Regions from separate parts of the Homo sapiens genome. Here regions 1, 3, 4, 5, 6 and 7 are each linked to region 2. The links are contacts of gene promoters, found by promoter capture Hi-C in blood cells and fetal thymus (Javierre and others, 2016). All regions are on one chromosome and are shown on one strand. Each heading gives the region's core, a stretch centred on a gene start or on the middle of the fragment in contact. The rest is flanking DNA. Distances are from core to core; before and after follow the strand shown.

The links. Contacts are between HindIII fragments. The CHiCAGO score rates a contact against its expected background, and 5 or more counts as called.
Region 1: the fragment with the promoter of GMNN here is called in contact with the fragment with the promoter of H1-1 in region 2 in 1 of 17 cell types (monocytes); the score reaches 5.3 in monocytes.
Region 3: a contact is called between a fragment that was not itself captured here and the fragment with the promoter of H1-1 in region 2, in 1 of 17 cell types (M2 macrophages). The highest score is 7.6, in M2 macrophages.
Region 4: a contact is called between a fragment that was not itself captured here and the fragment with the promoter of H1-1 in region 2, in 1 of 17 cell types (fetal thymus). The highest score is 5.5, in fetal thymus.
Region 5: a contact is called between a fragment that was not itself captured here and the fragment with the promoter of H1-1 in region 2, in 1 of 17 cell types (M1 macrophages). The highest score is 5.1, in M1 macrophages.
Region 6: a fragment that was not itself captured here is called in contact with the fragment with the promoter of H1-1 in region 2 in 6 of 17 cell types (naive CD8 T cells, fetal thymus, total B cells and 3 more); the score reaches 8.0 in naive CD8 T cells.
Region 7: a fragment that was not itself captured here is called in contact with the fragment with the promoter of H1-1 in region 2 in 1 of 17 cell types (M0 macrophages); the score reaches 5.3 in M0 macrophages.

The regions. Positions count from the first base shown.
Region 1 is chr6:24,773,232-24,777,099 of GRCh38, reverse strand. GMNN (geminin DNA replication inhibitor) reads right to left here and starts at 2,163. Exons shown (of 7, transcript NM_015895.5): 1 at 1,856-2,163. RefSeq lists an enhancer at 1,169-1,248. The HindIII fragment of the contact is 2,242 bases long and covers 1,001-3,242 here.
Region 2 is chr6:26,015,880-26,019,369 of GRCh38, reverse strand. It overlaps H1-1 (H1.1 linker histone, cluster member), which reads left to right and starts at 1,583. Exons shown (of 1, transcript NM_005325.4): 1 at 1,583-2,338. The coding sequence starts at 1,638. The coding sequence ends at 2,285. It also overlaps the pseudogene H3P26. RefSeq lists an enhancer at 2,391-3,390. The HindIII fragment of the contact is 5,921 bases long and covers 1-2,916 here.
Region 3 is chr6:27,774,740-27,778,590 of GRCh38, reverse strand. No RefSeq gene overlaps it. Among named protein-coding and RNA genes, the nearest start is that of TRQ-CTG6-1, 15 kb to the left of the region's middle. RefSeq lists a silencer at 649-708. The HindIII fragment of the contact is 595 bases long and covers 1,887-2,481 here.
Region 4 is chr6:27,756,179-27,759,739 of GRCh38, reverse strand. No RefSeq gene overlaps it. Among named protein-coding and RNA genes, the nearest start is that of TRV-AAC1-5, 4.5 kb to the right of the region's middle. The HindIII fragment of the contact is 2,133 bases long and covers 637-2,769 here.
Region 5 is chr6:24,721,178-24,724,591 of GRCh38, reverse strand. No RefSeq gene overlaps it. Among named protein-coding and RNA genes, the nearest start is that of C6orf62, 3.7 kb to the right of the region's middle. RefSeq lists enhancers at 2,595-2,684, 2,735-2,784, 2,376-3,169, 2,915-3,414. The HindIII fragment of the contact is 1,539 bases long and covers 1,395-2,933 here.
Region 6 is chr6:27,479,339-27,482,684 of GRCh38, reverse strand. It overlaps TRD-GTC2-6 (tRNA-Asp (anticodon GTC) 2-6), which reads right to left and starts at 3,011; the gene lies at 2,940-3,011. RefSeq lists a silencer at 2,899-2,958. The HindIII fragment of the contact is 3,440 bases long and covers 1-3,346 here.
Region 7 is chr6:24,737,222-24,740,771 of GRCh38, reverse strand. No RefSeq gene overlaps it. Among named protein-coding and RNA genes, the nearest start is that of LINC02828, 3.3 kb to the left of the region's middle. The HindIII fragment of the contact is 163 bases long and covers 1,460-1,622 here.

The sequences.
Region 1 (3,868 bases), core at 914-3,413, 1.2 Mb after region 2:
ACTCAGCCCTGTCAATGACTAAGGTGACTAAAGTTAATGACTCTTGATATCTATATTTTACATATATACACACATAATAATTATAGCTGAAAAAATGAAATTAATGTATTTTAAACCAATTTCTAAAACTGGTTTAAAATTTCTAAACATATTGTCCTGGATTAAATAGTCACCAGAAAAAGCAAAATAAACAGATACTAGGGTATGCCCAGGTCCATCCTAAAGAGCAGCATCTTAACTTTCCTGATTCAAAGACAGATTTAAGGTATAATAAACTGGGCTCTGACAATAACTTAACACAGACTTAATATCTGGTCAAATGAGATCATGCATTTACATTTGTAGGAAATGTTTAACCAGTAACATGAACTGAAGGACTAACAAGCAAGAAAGAGGGAAAAGGTAGAAAGGGATCTATGTAATGCGGTTGACTAGACCACTGGGCCAAACTCAGCATCTGAACTGCTGCTCCACTGCCCACTGCCCACTGCCCACTACCCATTGGCCCCTGCCGTGTCTGCGCCTGTGCCTCGTCGATAGATGTCCCTAATTTTTGTGGCCATGCCTTTACTCAGTGCAGTGGCTTCTAACATTAATACATTTTACCTTGTGTCCTGGCGCGTGCACACACATGTGCAAACAAAAAAGCTTAGGAAAGGCCGGGCGTGGTGGCTCACATCTGTAATCCCAGCACTTTGGGAGGTCGAGGCAGGCGGATCACCTGCATGATCACCAAAGTGCTGGAAGGTCGAGGCAAGCGGATCACCTGAGGTCAGAAGTTCGAAACCAGCCTGGCCAATATGGTGAAACTCCATCTCTACCAAAAATACAAAAATTAGCCGGACGTGGTGGTGCTCGTCTGTAGTCCCAGCTACTCGGGAGGCTGAGGCAGGAGTATCGCTTGAACCCGACAGGTGGAGGTGGCAGTGAGCCGAGATCCTGCCACTGCACTCCAGCCTGGGCAACAGAGCGAGACTCCGTCTCAAAAAAAAAAAAAGCTTAGAAAACAAAACAATCTAATTTGTGCGGGCATCCTGCTATTTTCTACTCTATTTCATGTTAAGAAAATGGTGTTCGGGCCCCAGTAAACAGACCCTACGCAATGTTCTTCAAACTGCGGGTCGCGGGCCGTGATCTCGAAATTAGTGAGTCATGAGCAACACTGCTTAGAAAAATGCAACTGAACAGAATGGAATTGAAGAGACGAGAAACATTGCTTCCATCACGTCTCATTTGGTTAGATAGCTGTGTCCTAGGTTGCGACGTAAAACGTACCTTAGTGTGAAAAAAGCTGAAAGCCACTTAGCATTCTAATCCTTCACAAGTTTCCCACGCCTGTCAGCGACCTTGCAACCCTTACTTGTTATTCTCCAGTTCCTTTAATAGCTAGATTAAAAACCCTGGCACAGGACAGGGTCCATGCGAAACCCGTATCAACAACGCCAGTATCCGTTTAATGGGAGACGCAGAATTCAGCCACCTCTTTCCATGAGCCAAATTTGCAGATCCCTCAGATCAGGACCAGCCACTTAACTGCCAAGAGGATGGATGCTTCGCCTCATCCCCACAGCTGGCAAGCCCAGGCTGAGTCCCTTACCCGCGTTGCAGTCCCCAAGCCCGGACCCAGCCAACTTGTCCCGGAGGCCCAGCGCCAGGCTAGGGGGCGGGCAGTGTGGCCCCGCGCGTCCGAGCCTACCAACCGCGGCGCGCGCCTCGGGAACTGCGCCAGCCAGCCAATAGGAAGCGCGGAAGTGAGAGCGCGCCAAAACCGACCCAGCCAATGGGGCAGTCCCTCGACTCACCTCCCAACCCCGCCCCGGCTCCCGCGACCGTTCAACAACCCCTTCGCCCTTACCCAGGCCGCGGCCCTGCAGCTGTCAAAGTAGGACGCGGCTTCAGAGGTTGGCCGGAGGGAAAGCGAGTCGTCTAGAGGCTGTGCGCCTTGCGCCCCTGCGTACCCACTTCCTGCCGCCTCTTGCCCACTTACTGGGTGGAGACGCTCAATCCTCGTAGCGAACGCACGTAGCTATGGCTGCAGCACCTCGCAAAAGGCCACAGCTCACCTACGCTGATCCCCACGGTCGCTGGAGTGCCCGGCGCGCTCTGCAGTAAAGCCCTGCTAACTCCGCTCGCCCGCTCCGAACAACCACGTGACCAACTGACGCAGACGAGGGGCGGGGCCTCTGGATCCCGCGAATCGCCTCTTCCCTCGGCCCCGCCCCTTCCTGCGCCTGCGCGGTCAACGGTAGCGAGTACTTGAGGACCGTGGGGGTTTTCTGCGGGCTGGGAGGCCTGTGCCCTTTGACCCTCCCCTCCGACCCTGCTCTTGGAACTTCCTTAAAATGCAAAGTTTTAGCCCTTTACGAAAGGGAGAAAGATTTGCCTCCATTAGTCGTTAGCACCAGAAGAACAAAATATTGTATGTGCATATATATTAATATGTAGTACACGACATATATTTGTGTAAAGCCCTGGCTCCACGGACTCGTAGTTGTATTAGGGGCTTTTATATTTTGGCTTTTTGTGTTTTGACTATGGTGTGGTGCGGTAGGAATTGTTCAGGAGACAACCGATTATCAGTTAATCCTGCAGCTATTCATTGAGCGCCTTATACGTGCCAATTACTACTGTTCTAGGCACTGAAATTACAACTGCTGTTGCAATTTGAAGGAGCAGAAACACCTTGGTAATAATTACGTCTAGCCTTTTCCTTCTTTTTTTTTTTTTTAATTGAAACGGAGTCTCGCTCTGTCACCCAGGCTGGAGTGCAGTGGCGCGATCTCGGCTCACTGCAAGCTCCGCCTCCCGGGTTCAAGCGATTCTCCTGCCTCAGCCTCCCGAGTAGCTGGGACTACAGACAAAGGGAGACCCTGTCTCAAAAAAAAATTAATTTTAAAATATTTTAAAAATAAAAAGCAGAAGGAAGGCGTTATCGAGTACAAATAAGGGACATATTACCAAATGCAATGTATGGATCTCGTCTGAACTAAACACTGTATTTAAAAAAATACCCAAGGGAAATTTGAACACTGACTGAATATTTTGGGATGGTAAGATATGAGTTGTTTAAGGTTACCTGATGAGCAATGGGTTAAAAAAAGAGATTAGTTGTAATGACAATATTGTGGGTTTTATTGTAATAGCTTCTACCTATAAATGGTAATTACAGATGAAATTTTATACCATATATTTTATTTGAAATAATTATTGAGAGAAGCAAGGGAAAAGGTATAAATCAAGCTTTCTCAGTATGGGCTCTATTGACATTTTAGACTGGGCAAATTGTTCGTGGTGGGGGCTGTCCTGGGCATTGTATGCTGTTTAGCAGTATCCCTGGCCTCTACCCTCTAGCTACCAGGAGTACATCCCAATTGTGAAGACCAAAAATGTCTGCAGACCTTGTCAGATAACCTTCCGCAGGGCAAAATCATCCCCAGTTGAGAACCACTGGTGCGAATAAAACAGTATTGGCCTTGTGTTGATAACTGCTGAGGCTAGTATGGATGAGTACATGAAGATTTTTTATTCACTCCCTCTACTTTTATATCTGTTTGGGATTTTCAATAATAATTTTTTTTTTTGAGACGGAGTCTTGCACTGTCACCAGGGCTGGAGTGCAATGGTGCAACCTCGGCTTACTGCAACCTCTGCCCCCCCCGGGTTCAAGCGATTCTCCTGCCTCAGCCTCCCAAGTAGCTGGGATTACAGGTGCCCGCCACCACACCCAGCTAATTTTTTGTAGTTTTAGTAGAGACAGGGTTTCACTATGTTGGCCAGGCTGGTCTTGAACTCCTGATCGTGTGATCTGCCCACCTTGGCCTCCCAAAGTGCTGGGATTACAGGCGTGAACCACTGCACCTGGCCAATA
Region 2 (3,490 bases), core at 334-2,833:
AGGCAGAACCCATTATTTAAAGTGGAAACTCCTGAATCAGATAATTAGGAGTATTTCCTTTTCAAAAGTTGCGTTTTTTCAGATACCTCGCTTATTACACTAAGAAAGGTTTATATCTTTCACAAAGGGTTTACTTACAAAAATCTTCCAATTTTGTATACCTGTGTTTCATAACTGACTAGCCGTCAAACCAAGATGTAGAGTTTCCAACCGTTATTTTCCAAATTTTTAGAAATTACGTGAAATATTTGAATGCATGCCTTCTCAATAAAATGGGACGTAGGAAGCACTGGTGCAGAAGATGGGTACAATACTTATCTGGGACCACTCCATTATTTGGTTGGCACGTTGTTTGAACAAAAAGGGGAAAAGCTCAGGTTACTTAGCATGGTTCGGACTTATTTGAAAACTACCACAGCAGGAGCGGAAATAAGACCGCATTACCTCACTCTCTGCTGTGCTGTGCTAGGGGGTTATCCAGAATAGGATTGTAGAAGTGGATGTCGATTTAATAGTTTTTTATTCTCCCATTAGCTGAGTCTCTGATTGGCAATGTGAGATCGTTTTAGCTTATTGATACTTTGAAATGCACTTAACAGCCACAAACAAGTTAAAGGGTTGTTACCATAAAATCTTATCCCCAGGGTGTGCTTGCATTTATCACCCGTGTTTGCTTTCACACTAAGTGGACTTAACTCCCCAGCAGAATGCCTGTCAGGGAACCGGTTTCGTGGACCCAGCATTTAACGCCTTTCGCAGGCTTGTGAGGCCCATAAATATTTGTTGAATAAAAGAATGAGTTGACCATGTCATGGTGCGCTGATTGCGTGTGCTGACATGGAACACAGGTTGTAAACCTTAATACCAATTTGGGGCATGTTGTATGGATGAAAAGGGCATTGGAAATTCCTGAAGTGCATCCCACATTGGACTGTGGAAATAAGTTGCAAGTGCAGAAACGTTTCCACACTTGCAGTTTGAGTATTAATTGCAGCGTTTGTGAATTCTGGTGTTGTCTACGATTCATTCTTGTTTGACGTGAAAGGTATTCGCGAGACACATCGCTCTAAAACATTGCCAGAAAATGTAATAGAGTTGATGACAACTGGCCCTAACACGGCCTAAAACTCGCACTTTTCTCTCCCTCCGCAACTATTCAAAACACTGTATTTTACATTTCTTGCAAATTAAAAACTAACATCTCTGGCAACGGACCTCTAAAAATTTCTAATAAAACTCCTCGGATGCTTGTGGCACTGCATTTGTAAACCGCCCCCTCTCAACCTACTCCCTAAAAAAGAGCTGCTTTTTGAGAGAGAAGCGGTACCCTCTGATGTTACTGGGCGGCAGTCTGCCTACAATTTCCTTCACAATGAGGCAACCAGAGCGGCTTTTTCTGTGTGTTTGCTTGCGTTGAGGGGAGCAGGACCATAGGCCCTAGAGGCCCCCAGCTGCCTTCTGAGACTGGGCGAAACCCTCGGCAGCGCGCAGGGGGCGCTAGGGCGCGAGGGGCGGGCACTGACGGGCACCAATCACGGCGCAGTCCCACCCTATAAATAGGCTGCGTTGGGGCCTTTTTTTCGCATCCTGCTTCGTCAGGTTTATACCACTTTATTTGGTGTGCTGTGTTAGTCACCATGTCTGAAACAGTGCCTCCCGCCCCCGCCGCTTCTGCTGCTCCTGAGAAACCTTTAGCTGGCAAGAAGGCAAAGAAACCTGCTAAGGCTGCAGCAGCCTCCAAGAAAAAACCCGCTGGCCCTTCCGTGTCAGAGCTGATCGTGCAGGCTGCTTCCTCCTCTAAGGAGCGTGGTGGTGTGTCGTTGGCAGCTCTTAAAAAGGCGCTGGCGGCCGCAGGCTACGACGTGGAGAAGAACAACAGCCGCATTAAGCTGGGCATTAAGAGCCTGGTAAGCAAGGGAACGTTGGTGCAGACAAAGGGTACCGGAGCCTCGGGTTCCTTCAAGCTCAACAAGAAGGCGTCCTCCGTGGAAACCAAGCCCGGCGCCTCAAAGGTGGCTACAAAAACTAAGGCAACGGGTGCATCTAAAAAGCTCAAAAAGGCCACGGGGGCTAGCAAAAAGAGCGTCAAGACTCCGAAAAAGGCTAAAAAGCCTGCGGCAACAAGGAAATCCTCCAAGAATCCAAAAAAACCCAAAACTGTAAAGCCCAAGAAAGTAGCTAAAAGCCCTGCTAAAGCTAAGGCTGTAAAACCCAAGGCGGCCAAGGCTAGGGTGACGAAGCCAAAGACTGCCAAACCCAAGAAAGCGGCACCCAAGAAAAAGTAAATTCAGTTAGAAGTTTCTTCTAGTAACCCAACGGCTCTTTTAAGAGCCACCTACGCATTTCAGGAAAAGAGCTGTAGTACACAGATGAAATCCCCCAAGCAAATGCAACACGCCCTCAATTATATTAGAATCACTTGGAGAGTCGATAGAACTTTAACATAGCCTCATCTAGTAAGAATTTACTACTCAATCTATCAAAGATAGCAAGGTGAATTCAAATGCACCGAGTTAAAATCGAGTTTTAAAGTCACCTGGGTTTCGGTAGCCGGAAGTCCCGCGTCTCACGACTCCAAGCTAATTAGTCATAACCGTATTGAACCAAGGTTGAAGCCCAGTCCCAGGCTTGAGGCTTTTTATTATACAAGGTTAAAGTGGGGATATTGCGTTTTGGGGTCAATATTGCTAAAGTAGCATTTTCCGAAATTGGGTGGTCCTAAGAAATGCTTCTGGGATAGTTGGCAAAATATATGGCTTAACCACGCCCTCTCCACAGGAGTGGCTAGCGAGCTGTCTGTCCTTGGGAAGGACGGTGACCCTGCTGGCGTGGCTGGCGCCCACGTTGGCGTCCTCTGAAAGCCCCGCCAGGTAGGCCTAGCTCGCTTGCTTTCTGCAGCGCCATCATGACAAAGCTTTGAAACGCAAAATGCTTTCTTTGTGCAGCGCCTTACCATGGGTGCACTTACGGGCTGTCGACTTGGTTTAGGCCCTTGTCAGGACAAAGGAGCTTAGTTTGTTGGAGTTTTAGAGCTGCAACCCAAAATCCCTTGCTCGGTTTCTCTGTTTTTAGAAACGGAAGCGCCCTGATTGGATATTTGAAAATTACTGTGCTTAACTGGATCGTGTTTCATCAGTCGTGCAGGATTTTCAACCCTGGTGGAGCCCACACATTCAAAACTGAAGATCCTTTTCTCAGAACTGCCCCTTTAAGCTTTTGCAATTTTAATTCTGGGGGTCAGATTTTAATAATTGGACTTTTTTGTTTACATCTGACAAGAGTATATGATGAGCCAAGTTTACTCACTTTTACTTAGTGCAGTTCAATTCTAAAAGTTTATTTTTGCGTGTGTGCATATGAGTTAATAATCAGTTGTATTTTTCAAACGGTCTTTTTTCAATTGTTTTGCTTAGCTCCTTCCATCGTCTAAAGTCAGGGATACAGGCACATCACATCCCTGTTCCCCCTTCCTCAAACTAATATGTAGCTA
Region 3 (3,851 bases), core at 935-3,434, 1.8 Mb before region 2:
TCATTGTTGCTTCTCTTTCTCATAACATTCCATGTGTCTAGTTTCTGTAAGTATGGAAGGAGGAGGGTATAAATGATGTCTTTTGGCCATCGTAACAGATAGCTTTAGAGAAGAATTCACAGTACACGAAATGAATTTAATAAATCATGCATAGAGATGAACAAAAGAGCAAAAGAAGCAGGAGGCTCCCGTAGAAGCAAAAAGACAATAACGATTTACAATAACCAATGGTCTCAGGCAAAAGTCAGTAACAGTGTTTTGCCTTCGAGTGCAAGAAAATATAAAATTATATTCAACCTCAGTGTATTTTCTATTCACTGGAAGATAGGTAATTTGTTGGAAGTAAACATGAGAATTGTCACCTCCTCTTCCCAAGTAAGATATGCCTTTCCAAATAAGATATGAGTAAGAAAGGAGTTACGCAAACATTTGGAGAAAGGAGAAGGAACATGCTGAAGACATATCTAAAAGTGAGATACAGCCTCTGAAAGGACTTTTAAGAGAGAGAGAGCGAGAGAGAGAGAGAGATATAATATATATAATATATATTTAGAGGCCATCTTCTCCCCACAACTGTGGAAGGTAATTCCTCAAGAAGGGGGGGGGGAAAAAAAAAAAAAAAAGCACCCTTCTTTAGCAGAGGATGGTTTAGATCCATCGACCTCTGGGTTATGGGCCCAGCACGCTTCCGCTGCGCCACTCTGCTAACGGAAAACACGCTTCTACTCTTCTTATTTATCATGCAGGTGATCAGCCATTTTGTTGTTGTTGTTGTTGTTGTTGTTACACTGTTTTGCCTCTTTCTGTTTTTCTTTCACTGTTTCTTTCCCGGTTTTTCTTTTTTCCTCTTGGCCTCTTAAGATCAGCTCACTCTAGAACCAGTTGATTCCAACAATCCCCTTCAAGTTGCGAGTTGCCCTTTCCAAATCTACCAAACATGCTTCAAAACCTGACATTTCTTTCTTTAAGAGCTGCTTTGGGCTCAGGAGCAGAAACAGGAGAAAAGTCAAGCAAAGCCCTCAGAAGCCCTTAGAGAGAATCGAGGAAGGCATTAAGTCAGACTACTCTCCTTAGAGAGAAAGTATATTAGCCAGTTCGCTTGTTTCCTGTCCCCAATAAAATTTCTTTCCCAACACTAGAAGTATTTTTGCGTATTGACCTAGAAGTATTTTTGCATATTGACCTAACGCCTTTTGCAGCTTTCCGGGCGCCTGGTGTACCCACGCAGCCCCACCTTATCCCCACCCCTATCCCTGCCGTTGAATTCATAAAAAGGGGCTTCCTACCCTAACCCTTTGGTGTTATGTCTGCGGACAGCTTTCACTTTCAGCGAATGTGGGCTTTCCCAGCCAAGGGCCCAAACAGAGACCTTTGATACTCCTTCATCCTGTGCTATGTCAAGAAAGTCCCTTCTGAAACTTTTATTTTGCTCTTTTCACCAACTTGCTTTTCCCGTTTTCTCAGAGTTTCTCTGTCTTCAGGAAAGCCTTGTGTTTCCAGTTCCAGGTCAGGCATAGGATTGGTGGCCATTACTCTCCACCAATTTCATTTACGTTTTCTTTCTTTTTTTTTTTTTTTCCTTTTCTAAAAAGACAGGGTGAGACACTGAGGCAGATATACTGGGGTTAGGAAGATATCCCAGAATAAGAGCATGAGAAAGCAGGCTGGAATGGTTCATGTGGACAAGATGAGTCCTAAGCAAAACTGAACCAGGTCCCACCAGGACCTGACGTGGGGCCACTAGATTTGGAGCCATGGGTATTAACTATCACAGCAGGGAGCCCCAACCCCTGGGCCACTGACCCGGTACTGGTCAGTGGTAGTGGCAGCCTGTTAGAAACCGGACCACACAGCAGAAGGTGAGCAGCAGGAGAGCCAGTGAAGCTTCATCTGTATTTATAGCTGCTCCCCATCACTCTCATTACCGCCTGAACTCCACCTCCTGTCAGATCATCTGAGGCATTAGATTCTTATAGGAGTTCTAACCCAATTGTAAACTGCCCATTTGAGGGATCTATGTTGCCCACTCTTTATGAGAATCTAATGCCTGATGATCTGTCACTGTTTCCCATAACCTCCTGATGGGACCATCTAGTTGTAGGAAAACAAGCTCAGGGCTCCGTCTGATTCTACATTATGGTGAGTTGTATAATTATTATATATCACAATGTAATAATAGAAATAAAGTGCACAATAAATGTAATGCATTTGAATCATCCTGAAACCATTCCCCTCTCCCCCAACCCCTGTCCATGGAAAAACTGTCTTCCATGAAACCAGTCCCTGGTGCCAAAAAGGTCTGGGACCGAGGCATCACAGCACTGAATTGCTGCTTACACTACAGGTGTTGCCAGAGGGCTCAGAAGGGTTTCCAGAAGCCAGTGAGACCCCAGCCCCAGCCCCAGCCAGTTTCCAGGTTCTTGACACCTTCGTAAGAAAGAATTCAGGGAGGAGTCAGAATGAAGCCAAAGGCAAGAAGCTTTTATTGCTAAGCAAAAGTACACACTTAGGGAAGTGTGGGTGAGCTCATGAGAATGAGTCGTGCCCAACAGAGTTTGAGTTTTCTATTTTTATGGGCTCTTGTAATTAGAGGGTGGACTAATCATGAGGTTTTCTGGGGGAAAGGCGAAGGTTTCATAAAATTGAGATGCCACCCATTTTTATATTAAATATGGGCGTACTCGATCTGTCAGGGCGCTGGTGGGTGTGTAATTTCGTATGGTAATTAGCATATAATTAGGTCTTGGGTAGGGCATGGGTCAAATCCAGCGCCATGTTGGACCCAGACGGTTTCAGACAGCTTAGCCACCATCCTGTTTGTTAGGGTCTTATCAGCCCAAGTTCTTTCTTGTCCTTGTAGCTAATTTTAACAGCTCCTTTTTTGCTGTTATGTGAAATTACTGCTTGATGTTTCTCCTATGACTACCCAGCATTCCTATCAAATAGAGATGAGATTTATCACCTTCCTTGTTCCCCTGGCCCTCTCACTCCACTAGCATGAACCCTTCAGTGACTCAGGTGCCTGATCTCAGCCTCTTTCAGAAAATAATCTGAGTGGAAAAACATTTTTATAGCCGCAAGCCAGGACTCCTCCCCTCCCCTCCACCAAATGCCCTATTTTCCTCTCAAAGGGGTTTAGGTCTGTGTTGCATGGGCCTTCTCTGTGGGGAAAAGCAAGAGAGATCAGATTGTTACTGTGTCTGTGTAGAAAGAAGTAGACATAGGAGACTCCATTTTGTTCTGTACTAAGACAAATTCTTCTGCCTTGAGATTCTGTTAATCTATGAACTTACTCCCAACCCCGTGCTCTCTGAAACATGTGCTGTGTCAAACTCAGGGTTAAATGGATTAAGGGCGGTGCAAGATGTGCTTTGTTAAACAGATGCTTGAAGGCAGCATGCTCGTTAAGCGTCATCACCACTCCCTAATCTCAAGTACCCAGGGACACAAACACTGCAGAAGGCCGCAGGGACCTCTGCCTAGGAAAGCCAGGTATTGTCCAAGGTTTCTCCCCATGTGATAGTCTGAAATATGGCCTCTTGGGAAGGGAAAGACCTGACCGTCCCCCAGCCCGACACCTGTAAAGGGTCTGTGCTGAGGAGGATTAGTATAAGAGGAAGGCATGCCTCTTGCAGTTGAGACAAGAGCAAGGCATCTGTCTCCTGTCCGTCCCTGGGCAATGGAATGTCTCGGTATAAAACCCGATTGTACGTTCCATCTACTGAGATAGGGAAAAACCGCGTTAGGGCTGGAGGTGGGACATGCGGGCAGCAATACTGCTTTGTAAAGCATTGAGATGTTTATGTGTATGCATATCTAAAAGCACAGCACTTAATCCTTTACCTTGTCTA
Region 4 (3,561 bases), core at 454-2,953, 1.7 Mb before region 2:
CGAGGCGGACGGATCACGAGGTCAGGAGTTTGAGACCAGCCTCGCCTATATGGTGAAACCCCGTCTCTACTAAAAATACAAAAATTAGCTGGGTGTGCTGGCGTGCGCCTGTACTCCCAGCTACTCAGGAGGCTCAGGCAGAAGAATCGCTTGAACCCAGGAGGCAGGGCTGCAGTGAGCTGAGATCGTGCCACTGCACTCCAGCCTGGGCAACAGAGTGAGACTCCATCTCAAAAAAAAAAAAAAAAAAAAGAAAAAAAAAGGAATGAGGTGTAATTAAAAATAGAGTAAGTTTTATTATCCATGCTAGCAATGGGGAGAGTGGCTGGCCAAAATTTGCCACTCTCCAATTTCTGGAGAGAGGCCAAGCATTTCAAGGAGAGGAGCTTGTAATGCAGAGGGGCAAGAGGCAGGAGGTGCCCAGTGGGTGTCTCATTCTGATGGCTTATCTTGAATTATTGTTTCACCTGGTGAAGGGGCCAGTGACATTGTAGGCCCAATCAAGTTACAAATTAATGACAGTCAATCTTGCAGATAATCTCTAGCCAAGAGTGAATATTGTCCTTGAATTAATCTCCTACTGGAGAGAGAATTCTGGAGATGTCTGGTCTGCATCAGGATTCAGCCCCTGAAGCTTCTAAGGAAATATATGACCAGATAAGTGGGCATGGTATGAGCTTAACAAGCATCCAGGTAAATAAATGAGCATAAGGCATGGGGGCATAAGATGCGAAAGGGAAGGCAGTTTTAATGCCCATTCCAAGGCAGTAATTGACGACAAAAGAAAGCACATCTGCAGTTTGTCTCAAAGCTATGTCTAGAAACTGGGGAGAAAGAAGAAAAGAAACAAAGTTTTTAAAACGTGGTTTGAAGCTAAGCTGCTTGGTTACCTTCCAACCTTCTGCAAGATTTTGCTGTTTTTTGTTATTATTAAAACAAGTAATAGGCCAGGCGCAGTGGCTCACACTTGTAATCCCAGCACTGTGGGAGGCTGAGTCAGGCAGATCACTGGAACTCAGGAGTTCGGAGGGGGAAAAAAACCAAGCCTGCGCGCTCTGAGCCCCACCCCCCATTCCCCATGGTGTCTGAGTAGGCTCCCAGGGCGAGCAGGATCCCTCCTCACAGGCGAGACTGGCTTCCTTGGAAAACCAATAGTCGGACTTGCGAGTTTTCCTCCAAGATAATTTTCTCAGGGACTTCTAAATGTGGTGCTGTACGCCTATGGTCCTAGCTACTTGGCAGGCTGAAGTCGAAGGATTGCTTGAGCCCTGGAGGTCTAAGCTGTAGTGAGCCGAGATCGCGGCCACTGCACTCCAGCTTGGGTGACAGAGCAAGACTCTGTCAAAACAAACAAACAAAACACACACACACACACAATGTAAACCAGGAATAGAAGGAAACTTCCTCAACTTGATAATGCCCAATTATGAAAAACATACAACTAATATCATTCTCAACAGCGAAAGACTGAAAATTTTTCTCCTACAATCAGGAATAATGGGTGCCCACTTTCACCATGTTATTCAGCACAGTATTGGCAAGGAAAAAGTAAAATTATCTATGTTCACAGATAACATGACTTTTTTTTGAGAGAGAGATGGGATCTCTCTTTGTCACCCAGGCTGGGATGCAGCAGAGCAATTATGCCTCACTGAAGCCTCGACTTCCCTGGTTCAAGCGATTACCCTGCCTCATCCTCCGGAGTAACTGGGACCACAGGCGCCTGCCACCATGCCCGGCTAATAAAAAAAATTTTAGAGACTAGGGTCTCGCTATGTTGCCCGTGTTGCCCAGGCTGGTCTCGAACTCCTGGGCTCAGGCGATCCTCCTACCTTGGCCTCCCAAAGTGCTGGGATTACAGGTGTGAGCCACCAAGCCTGGCCGTGACATGATTTTTATATATAGAAAACCCTGAAAATTACACACACACACTCAAACACACACACACACAAACTGTTACAGCAAATAAAGAAATTTAGCAAAATAAGGATAAACAACCACATGAGTTCCAGCAGAGAGCGCGGTGGGAAGCGGAGCGCGGCCAGCTGCTCTGGGGCCCTGCAGACCCTCTGGTCTTGGACCTGAGGAGGAGACGGGGGCCCGGCCCCGCGGCGGCCTCTGCTCTGCAGGCTCCCAGAGTCCTTGCTGTGTCTCCCACCGGCCAGGCCCAGGCCTGAGGCAGCGTCGAACCTCTCTTCACTTCCCACCTCGGTGACCTGGTGGCCCTCTGGTCTTCCAGAAAACCCTGCCGGGCCTAGACTAAGCCCCCGCTGGCCGCCAGGACGCAGCGCCTTTGTGTGGCGGCGGGTGTCGGGGGCGGGAAGAATCGCGCGGAAGCTGCCGGGGTGTGCAGGGACCGGGAAGGCGGAGCTAGGGATGCAGGTTCGGTCGCCTCTTTAGGCCACTGCGCCACGCAGATTGGGTCCAGAAGGTGCCGTTAAGTTTCTTCCCAGAAACTGTCAAGGTGCTGGTATGTTTCTTGCCCTTGCACTTTTAGTGTACTAAAATCAACGGCCAAACTCTACTCTTTATAGCAATCAAAGTATTCACCCATGCGCCCAATTTCTTTGCAAATGCCAAGCAAGAAAACCTCAGGTAGATGGAGGGAGCAGATAATTTGACTTTTTTTTTCTTTAATTTCACTATAGTGTCCTCCTCCACACATACAAGGATGAAGTTTTGTTTTTTAAGATGAAACAAATTTGTCATTAATGAAAGGATTGTCAAAATCTTCCCAAAGGTCCTCAGCTTCTGAATCACCTGGAAGCTTCTAAAAATTAAGACTTGTGGGCCATACCAGAGACCCTCTGCACTAGAAGGGGGTATGGCAAGGAATCTTAGGAATAGTCCACCTGGAGAATCACTAGCGTAAGTTCTGGGCCTCACATTCCCTCAGAAGAGTCCCATGAACCTGTGGTCAGCAGCTTAGGGCTGGTCTTCTTTACTGATCTGAGGGACAATGGGAAGCTTAGGACTCCCTGCATGGCATCTCTCCCGCCCAGGGGAGAACAGCTCAACAAATTTCCTCATTAACTACAAAGTTAAATGGAAGCATATGCTATGAAAATGCCACAAAAAGCTGTTGCTAGATGAAAATGTCTAAATTTGCTTTAAATTATCATGGGGGCTTGGCAGAGGGAGGAGAGACTAATTGTTGAAGTAGGATCATGGAAATAAGGAGGTCCATAATATTCTCTATAATCTTTTTTTGTCATAAACAGGGGTTTATAAAACTACCTAGTATAGCATGGTGGTCAAGAACACCAGTTCTGGAGACAAACACACCTGGTGGTGTCCTTTCCTAGCTAGCATAACCTCAGCACATTGTTCAAGCCTTAACTTGCTCAAATGTAAACCCGAAATGACAGGGATAGATCTTGACTCAGGAGGCTTGACAAGGCTAAAAGTAATACTAAAAATAAAAGCAGTAACTACTTCTGTAAGTTGAGCACTGTCTGAAACACTTCAGGGAGTTTTTCTTAATTGAGTTTATGATAATTCTATGAGGTACACACTGTATCCATATCCATTTTACCAGCACAGACAGAGTCATGAAGAAGC
Region 5 (3,414 bases), core at 915-3,414, 1.3 Mb after region 2:
GTTAAGCAGATATTTTTAGCCAAGGTGCCACCATCAAATCATCACTCCACAAATCCTATTGTGTTTGAAGCAGCCTAACCCTAAGTAAGCCATTTCTAACACAATGAAATGCATTTCTCCACAGTTAAAGAAGCTAAATCTTAAGTGAATGCTCTCTGACTTTTATCTGAATTTCATTGAGAAACGTTTGGTCACGGCTTTTAAAAATTTTAATTCCTTCGACTACCTTCTTATTTTATAGCCCTTTCAAGTTACAGAGAAAATTGAGCTAGCAGTGTTTTCGTCCTCCAGGGGACATTGCTGCTATTTCTTGGCTCATCTCATTAAGACCTAGCACAGTCCCATAACACAGTTTCATAGGATGTGCTCAGCTGTGACCAGGTGTCTCCAATTCTGTTTCACAGTAGCTGAAACTAAAAACTTCATTTTTTCCTCAACATCTGCTCCATACTGTTTTTTTCAGGATTATTATAGTAGTGAAAAAATTCTTCAATGGTGTATTAGATAAAACAACAAAAGCACAAGGGACAAATGAAAAACATAGATAAGTTGGACTTTATTAAAATTAAAGACTTCCGTGCTGCGAAGGATATCACCAAGAAAGTGAAAGGACAGCCCACAGAATAGGGGAGCGTATTTGTAAAGTATATATTTGACAGGGAACTTGTATCTAGAATAAAAAACTTCTACACCTTAATAATTAAAAAAACAATTTTTTAAATTAAAAATGGGTAAAAGGCCGAGCTTGGTGGCTCACACCTGTAATCCCAACACTTTGGGAGGCCGAGGTGGGTGGATCACTTGAGGTCAGGAGTCTGAGACGAGCCTGGCCAACATGGTGAAACTCCGTCTCTACTAAAAATACAAAAATCATCCGGGCATGGTGGTGGGGGCCTGTGGGCCCAGCTACTCGGGGCTGAGGCAGAAGAACTGCTTGAACCCAGGAAGCGGAGGTTGCAGTGAGCTGAGATAATGCCACTGCACTTCAGCCTGGGCAACATAGCGAGACTCTGTCTCAAAAAATAAATAAATAAACAAGTAGATAAATAAAAATGGGCAAAAGTTCTGAATAGACATTTCTCCAAAGAAGATATTAGAACAGCCAATAAGCACATGAAAAGATGCTCAACATCATTAATCGTTGGGGAAAGGAAAATCAAAACCACCATGACATACATCATACCCACTAGGATGGTTATACTAAAAAAGACATAATAACAAGAATGTGGAGAAATTGGAATACACTGCTGGAGGAAATGTAAAATGATGCAACAGACTTGGAAAACATCTGGCAGTTTCTCACATGGTTAAAGATAGAGTTAACATATATCCCAGTAATTCCACTCTTAAGTATATGCCCAAGAGAATTAAAAACATACGTCTATACAAAAGCTTTTAAGTAAATGTTCATAGCAGCATTATTTATAACAGCCAAAAGGCAGAGACAACTCAAATGTCCATCAACTGATGAATGAATATAGAATTTCATACAATACATATTATTCCACAATAAAAAGGAATTAAGTACTGATACATGCTACAACATGGATGAACCTTGAAAACATTATGCTAAGTGAAGAAGCCAGTCACAAAAGACCACATATTAAATGATTTCATTTATATGAAATTTCAGAAACGGCAAATCTATAGACAGAACATAAACTAGAAAGAAGAGAAGTGACTGCTAATAGGTACAGGGTTTCTTTTTGGGGTAATGTAATGGCTGCACAACACTGAATATATTAAAAACCATTGGATTGTACACTTCAAGTAGATAAATACGGTATGTGAATTATATTTCAATAAAGCTGTTATTTTAAAAATTCTTCCATGAAGTTGATCATGGATACAAGTCAAGGCCAGGTCAAGAACATATAAGCCGGCTGGGAATGGTGGCTCATGCCTGTAATCCCAACACTTTGGGAGGTTGAGGCAGGCGGATCACCTGAAGATCATACTGGCTTGTATGTCTCATATGTTTGTTTGTTTTTTTTTTTTTTTCCGACGGAGTCTCACTCTGTTGCCCAGGCTGGAGTGCAATGGTGCGATCTCGGCTCACTGCAATCTCCGCCTCCCGGGTTCAAGCGATTCTCCTGCCTCAGCCTCTCGAGTAGCTGGGACTGCAGGCGCCTGCCACCAAGCCAGGCTGATTTTAGTATTTTCAGTAGAGACGAGGTTTCACCATGTTGGCCAGGCTGGTCTCGAACTCCTGACCTTAGGTGATCCGCCTGCCTCGGTCTCCCAAAGTGCTGGCATTACAGGCGTGAGCCACCATGCTCGGCTTACTTTTAAAAATCTTTCTTTTTTAAACCAATGCTCTAAACTACGTGACATTTTCTGTTTTATCTCTGTGAGCTTTCCATAGTTACATGATTTTGAAAACAAATCAGCAAAGCACTAGCAAAATGCAAGCTGTATCTTCCGAGATTAGAAGTTATTTGGAAATCTCAGGACTCATCCTTTGGTTCTGGACAATTTATATTGAAGGGTGGGTACCAGTTATTCTTTTGGCTCATGGCTGAAATAATGTTATTACAGCTGATCTGTTTTGACTTCACGAAGTGAAAAGTAGTAATTGGGGTCCCAATGGACTTCTAAAATCTCAGAGTAGCCAATGAGTATATAAGCATTGCTTATGTGGAGTATTGACCTTTGCTAAGTACTTACATAACTGTGTTTTAAAGAGCACATTAGAGCTTTGAAAAATGGACTCAACGCTTTTTGGTGCCAAGGACGTGCGACTCGGCGGCAAACGTTTCGATGAAGACAGTGAACCACCTAAGGGGCAGGCTGTAGGTCTGAGGTCTTGGGGGATTCTAACAGAAAGTGTGTTCTGACAGCAGTGGGTAAAAATCCACGAGTCAGACTGGGCTGCTCCTCTCCTAAGCCACAGCAGCAACGTCTGAACAACGTCTTTGACCTTGTTCGAAGCTTGAGGACCGCCCTCCCTGCCTGCGCACGTGGCGGGGTGGGGACAGAGGCAAGTAGCACTAACATGAGACATCTGCTCCCGCACGCCGTTTAAATTCCAGGTGTCGAATTGAGTTCTAGGTTTGTTGCCGCAGGATACCGCGGGGCCGACCCCCAGGACTAACTAATTATAAGAATCGAAATAAGAATCTTCCAATCTCCAACACACACTTTCCTTTTCCTTCTTTGCTCCGCCCCTACCCTCGCCCACTCTCCGCCGACTTCCGCAGTTTTGGCCCGCCCAGGTCGCTAGTTCGGCTCTGTCACGCGCCCAGCCTGACTCTGAGAGGCTGACGAGACTCGGGAAGTGCGACTCCATCCGGGTGTTTTGTTGAGGATGGTTGAGGGCGTGCTTTTATGACGACATCGGGGCGGGGCGAAGAGCCAACTCAGGAGACTGGGACTTCCTGAAGAAGGGGGGCGGAAGGAGTGGCGGGGAGCCCC
Region 6 (3,346 bases), core at 467-2,966, 1.5 Mb before region 2:
TACAATTTGTCTAGTTTAGTTTTTCCTTGCTGTGAAGGCATAGCCTTACTCCTTTTATGTGGTCCTTACTTTAAAGGTTTATCACTTAGTGCTAAGGGTTAGTATTTCTGAAGTCTCAAAACAACAGCCATTTTACCAATGGGGCTCCAACTGGGAGAGGCATGAACATCAACCTCTGTCTCCCTAGAACCATGCAGCTACTGGATCTCTACAGATCATTAGCCTTCCAGTTGCTCTTTCCTGTACTGGAACATCTTCCTGTGTAGGTACAACTTAGGAATTAGCCAGTAATATAAGGAGAATTTATAATACAAATTTGAGATCTTTCTCTGTGGTTCCCTCATCACTTGAATTTTGACCATCAAGTTCTATGCACGTTGGTAGCCCCAAACTCTGACCAGTATCTCCTTAGTCCAGCACAACTGCCTCTTTCCACATGAGGTCTATTCCACAATGGTGCAATACGGGACACACCTTCAGGAGGAAAGCACTTTCAAATGTGCAAACTCATATAATGTGCTTCCCTTCTCTCAAGGATTGTAGTTTGTCAAGCCTTGCCTGGGTTGACAGCTTATCAGTGCCTTCAAACAGTTGCTTTAAGTCGGGCTTGGTGGCTCACACCTGTAATCCCAGCATTTTGGGAGGCTGAGGCAGGTAGATCACGAGGTCAGGAGTTCAAGACCAGCCTGGCCAACGTGGTGAAACCCTGTCTCTACTCAAAATACACGCCTGCAATCCCAGCTACTCGGGAGGCTGAGCCAGGAGAATGGCTCGAACTCAGGAGGCAGAGGTTGTGGTGAGCCAAGATTGCGCCATTGCACAGCAGCTTGGGCGATAGAGCGAGACTCTGTCTCAAAAAAAAAAAAAAGCCAGAAACAAACAAACAAACAAAACAATTGCTTTATAGTTCTTATCCACGATGAATCATTTTTCTTCTAGATTAAAAAAGAAATAATAGATTAAAAGGAAGTAATAGAGACAAACGAGATTCAATGTTAGGTGAAAAGGATGAGGCATCAATCACTCTACTGTTCAATAGTGTTAACGAAAAAAAGAATCCATTGGCTGAAAGTGTTGCACAATAATATTAACTTTTAAATTTGATGGCCAAAATTTCATGACAAAAATGTTAATAATAATTATTTTTCTTTTTTTTTTTTTTGGAGACAGAGTCTTGCTCTGTCGCCCAGGCTGGAGTGCAATGCTGCAATCTTGGTTCACTGCAACCTCCGCCTCCCGGGTTCAAGTGATTCTCCTGCCTCAGCCTCCGAGTAGCTGGGATTACAGGTGCCCGCCACCACACCCAGCTAATTTTTGTATTTTTAGTAGAGATGGGGTTTCAGCAGGTTGGCCAGGCTGGTATCGAACTCCAGACCTCAGGTGATCCACCCGCCTCAGCCTCCCAAAGTGCTTGGATTAGAGGCATGAGCCACCTCGCCTGGCCAATAAGTATTTTTAAAACAAAATCAGACATATTGTTATATGCTGGAAGAGTATTCTTTCATTAAAGAAGCAATGCTGTTGGCTTTGATTATGGCTCACAAAAATATTGCTTTTAATATTCATCCATTCAGCGTTGGTCGAGGGTATATACTAGGTACACTTCTAATTCCTACCTTATTATAAAGGAGCTTAGAATGATTTGGATTTCGCCATACCTTTCCATTTTATATTGTCGTTGCTGTTTTGAAATTTAGTACCATTTGTTTTCATATTCCAACATGTAATCATTACGAAACAATGTTGTTTCAGGCATTCACTCTTTATGTAGCTTTTGTCACATGTTATGAATTTTCTTGCTCACTTATAACATTTTGAATCCCACTCCTTCATCAGTTCTAAATTCCTATTCATTAATGTAGTCGTCACTCTTGTCATATGCATTGTTCAAAATTGTATATTTGCCCTTTTACATTTTAATTCGTATATTTTCATTTATAGTTTTATTAGGCTTTTCTCCTTTTAACTTTCCATTCTGAAATTATTTTAGACTGACAGACACAGTACATGAATAATACAGATAATTCCTGAGCACCCTTCACCCCAATTCCCTCAATATTAGCACATTAAGGATATTCCTATATTTTCTTTTCCTTCTCTCTCTCATATATATACATAAATGTATATTTCTGAACTATTTGACAGTGAGTTTGAAGACACATACCTCCCCTTACCCTTAAATACGTATTTTGTAAATAGGTGTGAATTTTCTTAAAGACATTTTGTTCTATAACCATAGAACAATTAATACAATCAGGAATTCACATTCATAATATTATAAAATCTATAGACTTTATTGAGATTTCACCAACTATTTCAATAATGTCCTTTAAGATAAAAATTCCAGACCATATGTTGCTGTCATATCTTTAAGATCTTCTATAATGTGGACTATTTAGTCAGCCTTTCTTTGTGTTCTGTAACTTTGTTATTTTATTTATTTGTTTATTTATTTATTTATTTATTTATTTATTTTTCCTCCCTGCTTGCCTGTTACTAGGTTGATGCAAAAGTAATTGCAGTTTTTGAGGCGTACAAGTCAGTTATTTTGTTAAAATCTCCCTCAATATGGGTTTGTCTGATGTTTTCTGATTTAGATTACATATTTTTGCCAAGAATACCACAAAAGTGACGTTGTGCTCTCATGAGCACATCCTGTAAAAAAGGTATATAATGTAGATTCGTCCCAATACTGATTCAATCACTTGGGTAAGATGGTATCTACCCGGTTTCTCCACTGTGATGGAGATTACAGTGCAGAGTGGAAATTTTCTTGCTATTACAGAACCTCATGATTTCTACAGCTTATGGTTTTTGCGATCAGTATTTCGTTGGTTTGAAAGAACTCTGCTAAAGAAAAAGAGAACCCAACATTTGCCCAGAAGACTAGAGACTGTGTTTACCGGAAGTGTGCTTTTCTAAAAAAAAGTTTAAGCCTCCTCCCCGTCGGGGAATCGAACCCCGGTCTCCCGCGTGACAGGCGGGGATACTCACCACTATACTAACGAGGAATTGACGTGAAAATGGAGCTCTTAGGAAATCCCTGTGAAGTTACTCGCTATTGTCCATCTTTCTTTGCTCTGTAGTCACACGTTTCCCCTACCAAATATACGCAAGGCAATTCAGCGAACGTGTCTCCGCCCAACCGCGAATCCTCTCCAGTTCCTCCTTCATTCCTCGGACGCTTTGTCAGACCCTTTTAAAAAAGAACTCTCGCTAGCCTCCTTTGTGACGCACTGGTTTCCGTCTATGTTCAACCATGGTTGGAGCCCTAGCTAACATAGGAGTTACAAATCCCGAAAGGTGCATCGGTTGGTTTCAAAGACAGGAAAAGCAGAGGTGGGAC
Region 7 (3,550 bases), core at 292-2,791, 1.3 Mb after region 2:
GGGATTACAGGCATGCACCACTGTACCCAGCAATGGCCTTTCTTTTGTGCATGTATTTCTGGTTTCTCTCCCTTTTCTTATAAGGACATTAATCATATTGGATTGGAGACCACTCTAATAACTTTTTCACCTCTCTAATAATTTTTTAACCTTAATCATCTCTTTAAAGGTCTTATCTCTAAATACAGGCACATTCTGAAGCATACTAGGGATTAGGATTTCAATATATGAATTTTGGGGAGGCACAATTCAGTCCGTAACAGTTACTCGCACCAAAACTTGGGTGTCCTCTTCACTTACCTCTATCATTTTCTATCCAGATATTTTACTTTCTAGATTTTTTCTATTAAGTGTTTAAATTCATCCTTTTATCACCATTGCCAGTGCCATTTTCAGGCCTTAATCAACTCTAAATTTCCATGCCTGGTCTTTTATAAGGCCCTCTGTAATCTGACCCATCTTGTCTTTTCTTTTAGTATGTTTATCATGTACATTGTAGAAAATATAACACTAAATTTTTGTGTCTGGCTACTTTCACTCAATAAAAAAGCAACAGTCCTCTTCCCTACCCAGACCCATTTCCCAGATGCAGCCTTCATATAGTTGAAAATTCAAAAGGTACCAAAGTCTACACTGTGAAAAATCTCCCTCCCACAGGCAACCAACGTTATTAGTTTATTGTATATCCTGATCTTATAGCTAGTTTGTACCCATGGGTACGTCTACTCATTTTCCCACAAATGGCAGTGTATTAGCCTGTTCTCATACTGTTATGATGAAATATTCACAATTGGGTAATTTATAAAGAAAAAGAGGTTTAATGGACACACAGTTCCATATGGCTGGGGAGGCCTCACAATCATGGCAGAAGGTGAAGGAGGAGCAAAGGTACATCTTAAATGGTGGCAGGCAAGGGCAGGTATGCAGGGGAACTGCCCTTTATAAAACCATCAGATCTTGTGAGATTTATTCACTATCATGAGAACAACATGGAAAAAACCCACCCCCATGATTCAATTACTGCCCACCGGGTCCCTCCCATGACACAAGGGGATTATGGGAGCTACAATTTGAGATGAGATTTGGGTGGGGACACAGCCAAACCATATAAGGCATCATACTGTAGACACTGCTTTACCTATACAAATTGCAATTTTCATTTAATATAACAAAAATAGCAAGCAGTTCTCAAGCACTTTCTATTTTTCTATTAGTATTCTGAATGCTTTGCATGTTTTAACTCATTTAATCCTTGAGATAACCTCCTGGAGTAAGAGCTATTATAATCCCCATTTTACAAATGAGAAAACTGAGACACAAAGCCTAGGATTGGCAGAACTAGATTTGAACCCAGCAGGCAAGCCCTCAGAGCTCAGTACTTAACCATGATAGCATGTTACTATGTCTTAGGGATTGTTCTATATCTGGACATAAAGAATGTTTGCATCCTTTTTAAGCTTTTCTTTTATTGGAGTTGAAACATATGCTCAGGAAGGTGCACAAACCATATGTACAGATGAAGGAATCATTAGAGAGTGAAGATACCTGTATAATCACCACCTAGCTCAAGAAACCAGAACCCCAGAAGCACCCTCTCCTCTCATGTGCTCCTAATTAAAGCTTACAGCGATTATAAAATATAGTCCCCAAATACTACTTTGACACCATTCCTCACATCGAGAAATAATGTCTCTATCTCCTGCCCTTGAATCAAGATTGACAGCTTAACCCATAGAGTACTGCAGAAGTGATACTGTGCCAGTTTTCAGGCCAGGCCTTAAGAAACTGGCAGCTTTCTCTTCCTGTTTCTTGGGATGTTTGCTCTTGGAATCCAGCCACCATGATAAAGAAAAACCATGCAGCTACATGAGAGGACAAGTGTAGGTATTCTGGCCAACAGTCCCTGAGGTCCCAGCAAACAGTCGGCATTAACTGCCAGACATGTAAGTGGGTAAGACTCCCAGTGATTTCACCTCCAAGTCTCAAGTCCCCAACAACACCCGCCCTCACTGCCCCCAGCCTTTGAACTGTCCAAGCTTATGCTGTTGAGGCAGAGATGAGCTGTCCCCTCCAAGCCCTGCCGAAATTGCAGACTTGTTGGCAAAGCACATTGTGGTGGTTGTTCGAAGTTGCTAAGTTCAGAGTGGTTTTTTACTTACCAGTAGATAACTAGGGCACTATTTTCTTTTTCCTCCCAAGGGTAATCACTATCTTGACTTCTGCTACTATAGATTAGATTTGTTTTTCTTCAACCTATATAAATATAGTCTTATATGGTTATATAGTTTGTATTATACAAACTTATATAGTTAGCATTATTTTGTGTCTGGCTACTTTCGCTCAATGTAATGTTTGTGGGATTCATCCATGTTGTTGCATGTAGCTATCATTTATTATTGTAAAACATTTCTTTGTATGCCTATATTATATCACAATTTATTTATCCATTCTACTGTTGATGGACATTTAGGTTAGGTTATGTTTTATTTGGAGCTACTATGAATAATGATGCTTTAAATATTCTTTTTTTTTTTTTTTTTTTTGAGATGGAGTTTCGCTCTTGTTGCCCAGGCTAGAGTGCAATGGCACAATCTCGGCTCACCGCAACCTCCGTCTCCTGGATTCAAGCGATTCTCCTGCCTCAGCCTTCCGAGTAGCTGGGATTACAGGCATGGGCCACCACACCCAGCTAATTTTGTATTTTTAGTAGAGGTAGAGTTTCTCCATGTTGGTCAGGCTGGTCTCGAACTCCCGACCTCAGGTGATTCACCCGCCTTGGCCTCCGAAAGTGCTAGGATGACAGGCATGAGCCACCGCGCCCGGCCTCTTTTTTTTTTTTTTTTAATATATAAAAATGCTTTATTTTACTCTTTCCATCCTGAATAAAAGTTTAGCCAGTTATAGAATTGTGCTTGACATTTGTTAACCTTAGTACTTTGAAGAAATACACACTTCGTCATTCATTGCCTTTTTTCTTCAAACATTTTTCTATTCTCTGGTGGCACTGATTTCTTTCTTCTAATTTGTTAATTTTTAATGTTTATGTATACATAATAATTGTGCTGCCATGAATATTCTTAACTCCTTACAAAGTAAAATGAGATCATTTGTCTCCTTACTCTCTCTCTCATGTATCTTTCCCCCTCCACATTCCAACTTCTGTCAGCTATGTCTTTAGTTTCACATTGTCAAGAGGGACAGCATTTATATTCTGTGCATGACAATATTCAAGGAGTGTATGTTATTTTTATAGATTTGTTCTAAGAGTGTAATGCCAATATATAGGGTTGCATTATTATGACTATGTAAATACTGTTCACTGTAGAACAAAATATTGTGCCAGGAATAATGCCCTCCTGGCAAGTTCCATTATCACAATGCCTGGGCCATTCACAAGAAAGTGTTATTTTTGTTTGTTTGTTTGTTTTGTTTTTGAGACAGGGTCTCACTCTGTTGCCCAGGCTGGAGGGCAGTGGCATGATCTCAGCTCACTGCAACCTCTGCCTCCTGGGTTCATGGAATCCTCCCACCTCAGCCTCCCAAGTAGCTG